Linked DNA regions of Homo sapiens: region 2 is linked to region 1. The links are contacts of gene promoters, found by promoter capture Hi-C in human tissues and cell types (Jung and others, 2019). All regions are on one chromosome and are shown on one strand. The core of a region is centred on a gene start or on the middle of the fragment in contact, and the rest is flanking DNA. Distances in the headings are between cores, read along the strand shown.

Region 1 (7,302 bases), core at 1,481-3,980:
GGCAGAAGAAGGATTTAAAAGCCTCTTTCAGAGAAGGCAATACCATTTTAGTCCTCCACATCCTTCATGGTTTTCTCTACTGGCTTAGCTGTGCTCAAAACAAGGACTTCTTTTTCCTTCATTTAGATATTCAGAATCTAGGACATCATAAGGTTGTGGATGTTTTAGAAAATAGATAATCTTCTGGCATGAGAAATATCCTTAATTAGCTATTTTTCCTCAAAACTGGAGGGGGGGTGAGTATTGACATTTGGGTAGCTTATGCAATTCAAGAGCTTCTGTCTTCTGTCTTCAAGTATTGCCTTATGTTAGAAATAAGTTTCCAGAAAATAAATGTCAAAGACCAGACACTCATGCTAAAGGCTAGATGCTTCCAATACAAACTTACGAACCTCCTCCTACCTTTCCTAAAAGGGACTGTTACATGGGGTACAAATATGAATGATTAATTTATTTTCTGCCCACATATAAGAATCAATTCATAACACTTTCCTGTTTGGGTGAGCTACTGGGAAGAATAAACAAAAGCTGGCTAGAACTCCACAAAGTTCCACTGTTCTTTTGTGCTTTCTCTGCTGCACTGTTACATGAGAGTTCCAAGGCAGCAGGGTCACGTGGGATGCTATACATCAGTGGTCCCCAATCTTTTTGGCACTAGGGACTGGTTTCGTGGAAGACAATTTTTCTATGGACCAGGGTGGGGGTGGGGAGATGGGGGATGGTTTTGAGGTAAAACTGTTCCACCTCAGATCTTCAGGCAGTACTTAGATTCTCACAAGGAGCACGCAACCTAGATCCCTCACATGTGCAGTTCACAACAGGGTTCACACTCCTGTGAGGATCTAATGCTGCCACCGATCTGACAGGAGGCAGAGCTCAGGCGGTAATGCTCACTCACCTGCCACTCACCTCCTGCTGTATGGCCCTATTCCTAACAGGCCATGGACAAGTACAGGTCTGCAGCCTGGGGATTAGGGACCCCTGCTATACATGACTGTATGGTACATAGCACTTCTGTGGCATGTGGTTTAAGCTCAGTGTCATTTGATGGCCAGGAGATCCACTTGAAAATCCCTATTTTTAGCAGACCTTGTAGGATGCCAATATTTGGGGCCAGAGTCTCGTTACTAAAATGAATGCTATGGAGCTAAGGCTGTGGTGCCCAGCTGGGCTAGACATTTGCAAAAAGAGAGCAGACTGGCAGACAGTGCCAATTCTCAACAGAATCTTTTGATTAGAATGCCAAGTTGCTATAAGGGTATCAGTAACATCCTCACCCTTTAGCAGGCAAAGGAGGCTGGGTATGTGAGAAAACAAACTCTGATCCACCTGATCCTCCACTGCTTTTTGATTCTGAGAAAAAAAAAAATTGTTCAGTAACTCCAGCTGCCTGAACAGAAATTACTTTCTGAGGAGCTAGAAGCCCTGACTGGAAAAGAGCTCTGGGGGATTATGGCATGGGAGGAGAGCTGTCAGGCATCAGGCTTATGTGGGAAGGACCCACGCTGACTACAACAGTACAAGTAACTGCCTGAGTGGCTCCATAACATGGAAACAGCAATCGTATGTTCCAAAGACAGAGTTACTGTTTTAAGGACAGAGGAACCTTTGTATAGATTCTTAGTGAAAAGCTTATTTTAAGGATGTTTGCTGAAACTCCATGTTTTTCACATTTCTTTTCAAAAGAGCATTGTCCTTCATATATAGTACATGAAAAATTACAATATTCATGTTTTTTAGATACAAAGTCATATACAAATAGAGGAGGAATAATTTCAAATTGCAAACCATACCAGCAAAGAAAGAGGGAAATGAGACTCTAGATATGGATTTATTAGGTGACAGGGATTCTTTTCTCTATATTTTAATATATTTTCCAAGTTTTGAACCACGGGCTAAGGATGGGCCTGTTCTCTGTCCTGCCTAGAAACTGACAGAAGCATGGGTGACCAATCCCAGACATGCTTGGCACTGCTGAGTTTTCATCTCTGTTGTAATCTTCTGACACCTCCTTGCAAAATATCAAGTGTTATATGCTAATACTGGCCCTCTCTTTGTTGAAGGAGAAAGCATGTAAAAAGACAACTGTCCAAACCCTGTGGCTACAAAGTCTTTTTTTGGCTTCCTAAGAGATTTACTCTATTCTTCTATTTCTAGAACTTTTCTAAGTTGGAAGATTTCAAATGTGAGATAGTGTTAGATCCAGGTTGAGTAAGGATTTTATAAAATACTAAATAATGATCAGAGATGGGAATAATCAGCCTAGATAAAAGCATATTCAGCAGGATGTCAAAATATACCAGATCCTCATATAAACAGCATGGATTACATTAACAGGCCTCCCTGGGTGAGTAGCGTCTCTTTCGCCTACCTTACGCTCACCCCATGGTTATATAACCTTTTGAACGGAATTTGGAAATTCTTCTGACCCTGTCCTGCTTGCTGATAGAGTTGAGCCAGTGGCTGGCAGGGGCATAATCTAATAGGCGAAACTGGAAACACACAAATTCACAGTCCTCTTGTCTTAGCCCAGAGACTGTACAGGCAAGGAAAGAAAGACTCGCCCCATCTCCCTCCTCCCCTCCTCTGGCCTAAGTTGCCGCTGACTTCACCCAACAGGCACCTGACCCTCCCAGATGAGCTGGGAGGGGCTAAAGCCTGGTGCAGCCATGGTAGGGGTGGAGGTACAGGCAGCAAACAATATTTAAGATGCTGACTTGTGGAGCATTCGGGCTTGGAAGGAAAGCTATAGGCTACCCATTCAGCTCCCCTGTCAGAGACTCAAGCTTTGAGAAAGGCTAGCAAAGAGCAAGGAAAGAGAGAAAACAACAAAGTGGCGAGGCCCTCAGAGTGAAAGCGTAAGGTTCAGTCAGCCTGCTGCAGCTTTGCAGACCTCAGCTGGGCATCTCCAGACTCCCCTGAAGGAAGAGCCTTCCTCACCCAAACCCACAAAAGATGCTGAAAAAGCCTCTCTCAGCTGTGACCTGGCTCTGCATTTTCATCGTGGCCTTTGTCAGCCACCCAGCGTGGCTGCAGAAGCTCTCTAAGCACAAGACACCAGCACAGCCACAGCTCAAAGCGGCCAACTGCTGTGAGGAGGTGAAGGAGCTCAAGGCCCAAGTTGCCAACCTTAGCAGCCTGCTGAGTGAACTGAACAAGAAGCAGGAGAGGGACTGGGTCAGCGTGGTCATGCAGGTGATGGAGCTGGAGAGCAACAGCAAGCGCATGGAGTCGCGGCTCACAGATGCTGAGAGCAAGTACTCCGAGATGAACAACCAAATTGACATCATGCAGCTGCAGGCAGCACAGACGGTCACTCAGACCTCCGCAGGTAAGGAGACCAGTCCCCTGAGGGAGCGTGGAGTGCCTCCCCATCTACAGCACTGCTTCTACATATCCTGGTCATCAGAACCACTACTGGGGCCTCTTTTGTGGGTACACTTTCCCTTTAGTAAAGGCTTATGCAGTATTTCCTTTGACTTCTAATGCTATGTAAGTTTACCTAACACCTTCACGGGTCTCTTTTATCCACACAGTGTTTCAGCCTACCATCTTGGAGTGCTGAGATACTACATGGTTTGCCCAAAGTCACCCAGCAAGTCTTAGAAGCAGGGTTCAAGTCTTCCTGATTGGTGTAGCTCTGCTACTTCCTCACCAAGAGCTGACAGGCTATATCTCAAGAAATTCCAAGGAAGCACCAAACTGTAACAGCTGTTCCTCTGGAAGCAAAGTTTTGCCAGAAACAGTTCTCTGGTGTTCCTAAGATTTACCAGGAATGAGCATTAATGGAATTTTGTGTCCTCTCTCTGTAAACGTAACTCTTCTCATTGGCTCAGAGTTAAGTGTAGAGACACATAACCATGTGAAGAGTCCCTTTGTGTTCAGGAAGGATGCGGCTCCTTAAGGTTCCTCAATTGTGATACGTCTATTTTTTTCCATGGTCTTAAATGAATTTCTCCGAATACAGGATTTTTTAAATGCAATGCTGAAATATAGACTTAATAGGCCAAAAATAAGATAAATTTAATCTTTCTTTTGCAAAATAACTTTTATTTCTGGTTAGCTCAGCTCAGGTGGGCCAACATGAATTTACGGTTTAGAGATAAAAATTTGGTTTTCTGAAATTATCAGGAAAATATTAGTTGTAAGGAGCATATCCTATAGACATGTCATTTCTTGCTGATATAAAAACCATTGGTCCCATTATAAACTACATGAAGAACAAAGACATGATCAGCTTCTACTGACTAAGTCAATGGTTAACCTCAGCTCAAATTAAGAAAAAGTTTTAACATGAAACCAAGCTTGAAAATTCTGTTACCTGAACCAACATGTATCAATCACTTTCTAAGCATGGACTTCCGGGCCCTCAGTTTGGGATTAGAAAGGTATTCTCAGGCCATTTTCCAGACAAGTGAGTCCTGATTTGGTCTGTGAGATGAAACCAGACATGCGGAAGACCAGGCCAGACAGAGGAATCTGACCGTGCCACTTCCTGCTCATCCAAACAGGAGGCTTTCTCACCATCCTGCAAGGAGGTTCTTGGGGTCAAGTGCAGCTCTCCCACCAGGTCTCTTGCTCTTCTTGCCCAGGACATCATTCCTTATTTTTCTTCTCTATGACCAAGTGCTCAGTTACCCTTATATTCTATAAGTAGGTAGTCCCTTAGAGGAAGCAGTAAGTTGGTGCTTTCACCACTAAGACGAAATGAAGAATAGTGATGGCGAAGGCACACGTACTCTACCTCCCTTTCCCAAGGTGCTCTGCAAGAGAACCTATGTGCCTCAGACAACTCCCATCTGCCATCTTGGTGCTCCTCTCTAAGGTCCCAGTGCAGTGGTCACCAAGAAAAGCACCCCGAGACATAGCAGGCAGGAAGCTTCTCTTGGATAGTAAGGGCCGCAGTCTCTGAATCCTATCAGAAAAGGCTGTCTCTTCCACTATGCTCTTTGATATTTAGAATACAGAGCTTAAATCCTGCATAAAGTAGCAGCTCCATGGCCCTAGAGTAAAAAAACTGGCCAGTCTGATGCTCTCATTTCATTGTTTTAACAAAACTTCTGGGAGGAAGGCCTCAAAGGTTCTTCTGAGTGTTTTGAGGTGCTAGCTGGATGGAAGGGGAAAATATGTGATAATAAAATCTATCTCCCTTAATTATGGTCTCAGGTGGCAGTAGCCACCATCTCTGAACAACAACAAAAACAACCAACCAGGAAACATCAACAAAACCAGACTCTATGAGATATTCACGACTGATTTGTTATAGTGGCGGCTGTCTAAGAAGTCTGAATCTATCTGACAGGAGTATCTGTTACGTGGCCCTCATACACTGTAACATTTCTAGAATTCATGGCCCAGCTATAGCAGAATAATTTATTTCAGAGTTAACCTGAAACCACCTGTTGGAACGTCCCACTAATGCTATCCAGGTGAAGGGCTTCCCTACCCCTCTGCTCCACCGCTAGTAAAGCCAAAATACACCCCCTCTGGATCTCCCCATATCCACCTCTCCCAAATGCAGACACTGATGGGTAATTAACACCACTGAGAATCCCAGGGTAGAAATAAAGGCTCAGTCTCTAAACACTCAACTCAGATGGAGCCACTGGGTCTAAATGCTCACCCTGTGGTTTGTTCTCTTGTAGATGCCATCTACGACTGCTCTTCCCTCTACCAGAAGAACTACCGCATCTCTGGAGTGTATAAGCTTCCTCCTGATGACTTCCTGGGCAGCCCTGAACTGGAGGTGAGGTCATTACAGTCACTGGCCATGCCCTAATACCTGTCCTTCACCCCCTCAAGGGGACTACAACAACAGGGCCATTCACAGTTTAAAGAAAGGAAAATTCGGCTGGGCGCAGTGGCTCACACCTGTAATCCCAGCACTATGGGAGGCCGAGGCAGGTGGATCACTTCAGGTCAGGAGTTTAAGACCAGCCTGGCCAACATGGTGAAACCCTGTCTCTACTAAAAATACAAAAAAATTAGCCAGGCATGGTGGTGGGCACCTGTAATCCCTGCTACACAGGAGGATTGCTTGAACTCAGGAGGCAGAGGTTGCAGTGAGCCGAGATCACGCCACTGCACTATAATCTGGGAGACAAAGTGAGACTCCATTTCAATTAAAAAAAAAAAAAAAAAAAAGGAAAACTCAAACACAAGCAAACACACCAAACACCACAGAGCTATGCAAACACTCAGTTTATGCCCTGCACTCCAAACCCAGGCATCTGTTTGGCCCCTTCAAATCATTATCAGTCAAACAACAAGCCTTCTAACATAGATCAGATCATTCTTATAACCACCACATAACTTAGTTTAAATCTCTTGCCATGTCCTAGAACAGCTATTCCTTGGGGGAGGAGAAAAGAAAACACGAAGGCAGCATCAAATTATCTGGATTTTCACCCAGGCATGGTGGCTCACACCTGTAATCCCAAGTTTTTTGGGAGGTGAGGTGGGCGGAACAATCACCTGAGGTCAGGACTTTGAGACCAGCCTGGCCAACATGCTGAAACCCAGTCTCTACTAAAAATACAAAAATTAGCCCAGTGTGGTGACAGGCACTCTGGTCCCAGCTACTAGGAAGGCAGGAGAATCACTGGAACTCAGGAGGTGGAGGTTGCAGTGAGCCGAGATTGCACCACTGTACTCTAGCCTGGGCAACAAGAGTGAAATTCTGCTTCAAAAAAAAAAAAAGTATCTGGATTTTTCCCTCCAAGCTTCATGTGCACTCACCCCCGGGCCCAATTTGCATCGTTCTTCCAGAGCAATGCACCACCCACCCCAGCTCACCAGCAGTGGGGCAGCATCACTGCCCGAGTGAGCCAGTGTGACTGCGGGAGTGCACACATCTACTGGCTCTGCAGGGACAGGAACAGGTTGGGAAGCCTGCCCTCTTGCTCCTGCCTTCTGCCCCTGCAAGTCCCTCACCAGAGTATCCCCTCTGCTTCAGGTGTTCTGTGACATGGAGACTTCAGGCGGAGGCTGGACCATCATCCAGAGACGAAAAAGTGGCCTTGTCTCCTTCTACCGGGACTGGAAGCAGTACAAGCAGGGCTTTGGCAGCATCCGTGGGGACTTCTGGCTGGGGAACGAACACATCCACCGGCTCTCCAGACAGCCAACCCGGCTGCGTGTAGAGATGGAGGTAAGCACAAGGCCAGGGGCCCCATGACTGGACCAGTGCCACCACACATGACCGCGTACAACTCCGGGGGTGCCATTCCTATTCTGATTCAAGACAAATCTGTATATTCATTGTGATGGTTTTCCTGCAAGTTGTAATGGAGTTGAGGAAAA
Region 2 (7,302 bases), core at 2,592-5,091, 61 kb before region 1:
CCATGCCTGGCTCCCTAATTTTATAGTTTTTTGTTAAGATATAATACATGACTACACGAGACAAATGTAGGAAAAAACCAGAAGACTTCTCAAATTGTTGCCATTTCAGGGTTTCTGAATACCTGAGGTTTTTCCGAAGAGATGTTGGGTCATTGGCCAGAAGGGTGTTAACCAGGCCGAAGAGCTGCATCACACGCTCATCCTGGCGCAGATCTTCATGGCCTTTTAGAAGGAAAACAAACTCATGTCCGTTGCTGCCTGTAAGGAACAGTGGGAGCGGTGAGTGTACATCAGAGGTCCTCAGCTCTTCAGCTGAGAGCACCACTGCATTCAAGAGATCCCACAGACTACATATGCCTTACCTAATCACACGTTCCTCACAAAAAGAAAAAACAATCTTTAGAATTAATGAAAAGAGTGGCTTTGCCTTTTATGGTTCTCAATGACCAGTGTTGTTCAAATTAAAACAAAACAAAATCTGTTTTTGAGGACCAGGAACGGTTAGGCATGGAAATGATCATTCCTGTTTTCCGACCCACTCTGTCCTCCTCTGTTCTGAGAAGCCTGACTCCTACAAGCCGCATCACCTGGGATCCCACTTGGGCGTGGCCAATGGTGGAAGGGTACTGGCAGGAGGTCAGAGGATGGGTAGAGGGAGAGGTCAGGGTATGTGTCCCCCATCACCAGCCTGGCCCCAGTTCTAGAAGCTACCACTCTCTCTGGACTGTAGACTCTGCTAGATGGCCTCTCTGGCATGGTGACGGTTCTAGCTGGGCTCCTTGCTCTTTCAGTTCTGGAGTGTGGGGGTGGGTGAGGGCTGAGTAACAATTTCTCACTTGTGCTTGTTCATGAGCGCTCCTTGTTGATTCTCTTAGCTTTGCTTACACCTCTGGAAACAATTCCTTTCTTAAACTCTCTTTAATTAAACACCCCAAGAACCAGCCTGACCCACATTTTGTATCAGAAGACAACAGCTCATGCAGAGATAATCACCTGTGGACCATGATTAATTGGTGTTGGTGAATAATCACTGCATTTAAGAAACATTGAGCATTATTAAGAGCGAGAGGTGAGGCTGGGCGCGGTGGCTCACACCTGTAATCCTAACATTGTGGGAGGCCAAGCTGGGCGGATCACCTCAGGTCGGGAGTTTGAGACCAGCCTGGCCAACGTGGTGAAATCCCATCTCTACTAAAAATATAAAAATTAGCTGATTGTGTGGCATGCGCCTGTAATCTCAGCTATTAGGGAGGCTGAGGCACGAGAATCGCTTGAACTCAGGAGGTGGGGTTGCAGTGAGCCGAGAGCACACCACCTCACTCCAGCCTGGGCAACAGAGTGAGACTCTGTCTTGGGGAAAAAAAAAAAAAAAAGAGCAAGAGGTGGCTGGGCGCAGTGGTTCACACCTGTAATCCCAGCACTTTGGAAGGCTGAGACAGGCTGATCACTTGAGGTCAGAGTTCGAGACCAGCCTGGCCAACATGGTGAAACCCCAACTCTATTAAAAATACAAAAATTAGCTAGGTGTGGTGGTGCGTGCCTGTAATCCCAGCTACGCGGGAGGCTGAGACAGGAGAATTGCTTGAACCTGGGAGGTGGAGGTTGCAGTGAGCCAAGATTGCGCCATTATACTCCAGCCTGGGCAACAAGAGCAAAACTCTGGCTCAAAAAAAAAAAAAAAAAAAAAAAAAGCGAGAGGCCTCAAAGTGCCACCACAGCACTCAGGCCTCACTAAAACATCCCCCATAAGTAACACTCTACCCCAAGGGAAATTCCAGAGCCCACTTGCTTAACAAATCTCACTGTGAGAATCCACTTGTTCATTTTACACAATCATTTACCACAGAGACTATGATGGTAAAAAAAAAAAGAAAAAAATTTCAAGAGCCAGAAGCCCCCGTTTCAGAGGAGCTAGCACCTTCCCTGCTTGCACCCAGCTGCCTCCTCCCTGGCCTCATCAGTCTCCAACACCTGCCTTCCACTGTTACTTCTCTGCCTTGCATGCCTTTGTCATTCCCTTTATGTGTGATCATGCTTCACATAAGCCCAACTACATGAATGAACTAAGTCCTGAGGACATAATGAGAAATTTGCTTGCCCTCTATTTTCCTCTCAATGAGCATGGGAGAGATGTAGCTATGATAGGTGAGTAGTGGGAATGGCAAGCAGTAATTTCAGAAGAGGGAAGGGGTCTCAGCCAGTGTAGGAGGGAGAAGTGGGTGACAGAAGTGCACAATGGTCCTTACCCATAAGTGTCAATTTCCGGGGCCTCTGCTTGGATGTGATGACTTGCAAAGACGGTGCTATGGACTGAATGCGAATGATTGGCTGGTTGGGGTCATATGTTCCTGGCACAGCCAATTCAAGGTCCCGGCACATCAGAAGTTTTGGGGAAACATATTGCAGCTCTAAGGATGTGAGCTGTAAATAATTACCAAAGGATTTAGTGTTCTGCCTCCAGGGAAGAATTTAAACGCAATTTAAGTATTTTTCAGTGGATTGCTAATAACAATTACTTGTCCCAAAGCAGAAGTAAAACCAGATGCTTTGGAATGAGTGTTAGAACATTCATAGACAGTAAAACAGAAAGGACTATAATGACAGTTAACCCTGCCAGGAGCCTGAAGATCCTACCTGAGGCAGCTGCTTTGAGATTCGTCGGAACACATGATAATAGAGGTCCCAGGCTTGGGTGAGGTCCTTGACATTCCCTGATTTCATGTACTTCCTGCACCACTCTTGGGCCTCCATTAAATCTCGACCATAGGCCTGAGAGAGAAAGCAGGCACGTTTTCAAGTTATCAAAGTCTCAACCAACCCAGGAGGCAAAATCCCCAGGCTGACTGCAGATATTCCTCAGGAGCCCGCTGTGGCCTGAAAACACTGGCAGGGGGCTGGAGAAAGCAAGAGCATAGGTGCAGGCCTCCAACCCTGGAGCTTCCAAACCAGCAGCATGGCTTATAGGGAAGGAAGGGTGAGAGGAGAGACGAGATGACCTCTTGAGAAATCTTGGGCTTTTCCAGTTAAAATTCAGAAGGGTCCCTGTAACTAATTTCTGATGTTTTATGCTCTGTGACCTCCATCAGAGCTCGTTTTATTAAAGTCAGTGGAAAGGCCAGAGGAAAAGAAATCTGACAAAGGCCTTGGGTCACGTCCTTTCATTCTATAAAAACTTTTCTCATTTCATTTTTTTTTAGTGGCAGAATATTTCTACAGGGTTATGTCCTTTCGTGTTTTTTACCCCATACCTGATTAAAGGATGTTTCCTTCAGAGTCTGGGGGCCCCGTTCCATCATAGCATGCAAGGGCTCCAGCACCTCAAACATGCCTTTCACGTTCCTTTCCCCAAAGTACAAACGAGATGCCTCTTCCAGGCCTTCATGCCACATCTCATGCCAGAGGATGGCCACTCGGATCAGCTCCTCGCTCACCTGAAGCCAAGAGAAGAAGGAGAGAAGCATCAAGAATCAGCTAACCTCAGAAAGGTCTGTTTTGGAGACACAGGAGGTACTATTTCCAGCAGTCAGAGGAAGTGCACAGCACCAATGCGAGGAAGAAAAACAATCCCACTTGCGCCCACCAGCTAAGGGACCAGGGTCTATGAAGCCCCACAGTGGCTCCGACCCACCATCATGGCCTGCTGGACCAGGGTGTTGCTGTGCTCACACATGTTCTTCAGAATCTTGTTGGCTGCATTGTGCCGGGCTGTCGTGGTAGACTTAGAAGCCACTGTCAGTGGGTAGATGAGGGCCTGAGGGAAAAACAGAAGAAACATCTATAAAGGAAATGTGGGTTGGGGAAGAGCTGGTATGAATTTTAAGGAGAATAACAAAACAAGTGGTGAGTGTGACATTAACATCTGCTTGAGACTACCAGGAAGGGGCTCAGTCTTCGAGGGAACGCTTTCTTTTTAGCAAGGCTCCCGGGCCCTCTGGGACGGCTGGCTGGACAGACCCTCCTGGGCCAGGATGGAACACATGGCTCCCAGTTCCTGCGCTTGTGTCGCCAGGGCAGCTTTTGGAAAGGCTGACCACCAAACCAGTGGTTAGATGAGAAACTGCCCAGAGTCTCCACATACCTGGGGGTGGTACCGACCAATGTCTGTGAGAAGCTGGTGAATGAGACGTCCCACCAAGGGTCTGGGCGTATCAATTCTTGCAATGAGCTGAGGTATAACCTGGTATTCAAAAAGACACAGTATGTAGCATATGAGACTTGAAACAACTAGTTATTCTTCTAGGCAAAGATCAATTCTTTTAACTTGTTTCGGTTGATGCTCTGAAATGGTTCATTCCCTTCCCTTTAGTTTCTAAAAGAAAATAAAGAAAATATGGACACTTGACACTGGGACCGAGCCCTACTTCCTTAGCACTGTATTAACACACACTGCCTTGTGACACTGAACACAGCATGCTTGTAAGAGGAGACACACAGAAGAGAGACTTGGAGCCACCTTCACCTGTAACCAAGTATCCTCACCTGTAGCCAGGTATCAATCTGGATGGCTTTCACCCCCTCCACTAAGGCCTCATTGACATCTGGCCAGTGACCATAATCAAACCATAAGGTGAGAACTCTGAAAAAGAAATGAGAAAGTCACAGAAAATTTAGTTTCCCAGTTTTTGCCTGCCTGTTTTTCATCTCTAAGGCTCCTGAGAAGAGAGCTGGCAGGGACTCCAACCAGTAACTCTCAAATGTGTTTGGCCTCCCATGGGAGCAGGTGTCTGTGATGGGTGGCAGTGCTCTTGACTGAACACCGTAAGAGTCACCCTGAGCAAATGAGCATTTCATCCCAGGTCACCGAGGGGTCACCATGGCATGTATGCAAACATCAAACAGACGAGCCAGGATAACCTTTAGAAAGCCACAAGTCTGCACATGTAAGAGTCGCTGTACGGCAGAGGCAACAGGGACACCTGGCTCTTAGCTGGCTGGAGATCCTCAAATGAAGGAGGATGTGGACCTTGTCACCTTTACCCTCTGGGTTAACTGATTTGAGTCATTTGTTTAGACCTCTCCAAGTTGCTGAGGGATTTTAGAAATACTGTGACTTCAATAGGCAACAGGGTGGTCAGAAAAAAAGAAATATTGTGATTAACAGATGGGTTAATAATCCCTCCATAATAAACCACACATGGAGAGTTCTCACTCCACTTCTCCTCCTCACTCTCTGTAGGTTTCACCCACACAGGTGGGGCCCAGTCAGCTGTTACTCCTTAAATGCAGTGCAGAAAAAAGGCACATACATCGATCTTGGGTGTCCTGATCAGGGTCAGGAAGGGAAAGAGGACTTTTACGTGTGACTTCTAGGTCTTGCCATTAACATGGCCTACCAGAGTTGCATCCTTCCCTTCTCTGATACCTGAGTGTATCCTGGAGGTTGTTGCCTCGTGACAAGGAGATGGAACGGAAGAAGCCCTGGACGGCAGGCACCGTGTACATCAGGAGGGTTTTGGACAGATCCTGTTGGAACACACACGTGTTAGCGACACTCTTGCCTCTGCTTTCTCATCTGTAAAATGGGCATAAGAGCATACTAACTGTACCTACTTCAAAGGGTGGTTATAACAATTAAATCGGTTAATGCATGAAAAATCTTTAATCATTACCTGGCACATAGCAAAGACTCAATAAATGGCAACTGTATCATAACTGTTATTATCTTGGGCTGACAGTGGCTTCCTGAACAGGATGGAGGGAGGAGGTGGAGCTGAGGCTCTGAACACCCGGATCTCTGGGCCTGCCAGCGGCCCTGGCGCATTCTGAACTGACAGCCCAAGGGGAAGGGGAAGAAGTGGAAGTGGAGAGAAAAAGGCAGAGGATGGACCTCCCAAGCCCCATCCTCAGAGTGGACCCGCAGCTGTGTACAGCCACCCACACACAGGTGCAGCACGTAGAGAATGAGCTCGTCCACAGGGAAGCTTGACAAGGAGCTTGCTCTTCAGCATAGAGGCTGCGTCAGCTCCCCAAACACAAATATTCACACACAAAGCCCTATCTCAGGCAGTGCTGGATGGTAGATAGGCAGTATTTTCCAGCTCCATCTGGCACTTCAGATACAGCCTCAGGTTCCTTTTAAGCTTAACAACGATTCCATTTCTCAGAGAGCCTGGCACCTTGGTTGGTTGTTAATAAGGAAGAAGGGAAGGGTACCTCAGTGACCTTCTTCTGCAGCGGCGATGGGGTGGGGCTGTTCTCGGTGCTCTCGGCCTCGCTCTCACTGTTGCTGCCCTCGGTGCTGGCAGTGGTGGTGGCAGTGGCGGCCGTGGTGGCGGCAGTGGTGGCGTTGGTGATGTTGGCCCCGCTGGCATGACGCAGTTTCTTCTTCTCATCGCGGGCTTGGTTCTGATGTTTGTAGTGTAGCACAGCTTCGAAGTTCATCACTGCCCACGCATGCCAGGCCTGGTTGGGGAGAAAGGCAAGGACAGACACTGGAGCTGTGACCAACAGCAGGGCTCAGAGGAGCGCAAGGTCGATGCTGAGGAACAGCTGCTCCTGCCTGTTCTGTGTGTCCATAAAGCAAACACTTCAAGGAGACACTCAGAAATGGCTGTTTTACTAAATTCAACATGATCCACTCACTTTGTGGAGCACTAACTATATAACGTACTATGAGTGCACTGCGAGAAGGGCACAGCAAGAGGAGCAGGAGAGAGCTCTTGCCTCAAGGGATCTCCCGGCCTCCTAGGGGAGCTCACGCACAAACCTGAAGACCTAGGTACTCTGCAAGGCACAATGGGAGTAGCAAGGACAGGCATTTGGAAAGCTTTGTCAAGAAGAGGGATTTGGGGTAGGTCTGGAAGAGAGCTGCAGAAGGGCAAGGAGGGAAACAAGAAGGCAGCGGTGGGGACTACTTGGCAAGGGGGAAGAATAAGGCCAGAGATGTGCAGATTGGTTCACGGGAAACAAGCCCATGAATGTGACCGTGCAGGGGATACATGCAGGCGAGGAGTGAGAGCGAGGCCAGCAAAGCACGCCTGGAGCAGGCACAGGGCTGGCACTTTCACCCAGAAAGCAGAGCTGCACTGGGTATAAAGTGTACATTTAGGGGAGAGCAGAAATGGCAAGCAGAAGTGGGGGCAAGCAGCAGTCATCACAATATTTCAAGGGAGCAAAGTTTTGACAGGTCACCAGATAGTGGACAAAGGAAGACATGAAGAGCATAGGAGCCTGACAGAGAAAGAATCTCACCCATCTGCCTGGTCCCAACACCTAGCCCACGGCCTGACAGAGAACCAGTGCTCAATGCTTGAAGGAAGAACCGCTGGTGCTTATTTGGATAAAGGAATACTACTCTCTCTG

Evidence for each region. Contacts are between HindIII fragments. The study calls those that stand out against the background at their distance.
Region 2: a contact is called between a fragment that was not itself captured here and the fragment with the promoter of ANGPTL7 in region 1, in 1 of the 25 tissues and cell types used here (H1 embryonic stem cells).

Annotation. Positions count from the first base shown.
Region 1 is chr1:11,186,625-11,193,926 of GRCh38, forward strand. ANGPTL7 (angiopoietin like 7) reads left to right here and starts at 2,731. Exons shown (of 5, transcript NM_021146.4): 1 at 2,731-3,331; 2 at 5,646-5,746; 3 at 6,956-7,150. The coding sequence starts at 2,956. All of the region lies in intron 28 of MTOR (mechanistic target of rapamycin kinase), which reads right to left. RefSeq lists an enhancer at 3,084-3,584. The HindIII fragment of the contact is 2,807 bases long and covers 739-3,545 here.
Region 2 is chr1:11,124,376-11,131,677 of GRCh38, forward strand. MTOR (mechanistic target of rapamycin kinase) reads right to left here. Exons shown (of 58, transcript NM_004958.4): 39 at 6,154-6,402; 40 at 5,363-5,463; 41 at 4,480-4,576; 42 at 4,079-4,177; 43 at 3,629-3,751; 44 at 3,249-3,431; 45 at 2,635-2,769; 46 at 2,247-2,421; 47 at 123-258. Among named protein-coding and RNA genes, the nearest start is that of MTOR-AS1, 16 kb to the right of the region's middle. The HindIII fragment of the contact is 4,318 bases long and covers 1,683-6,000 here.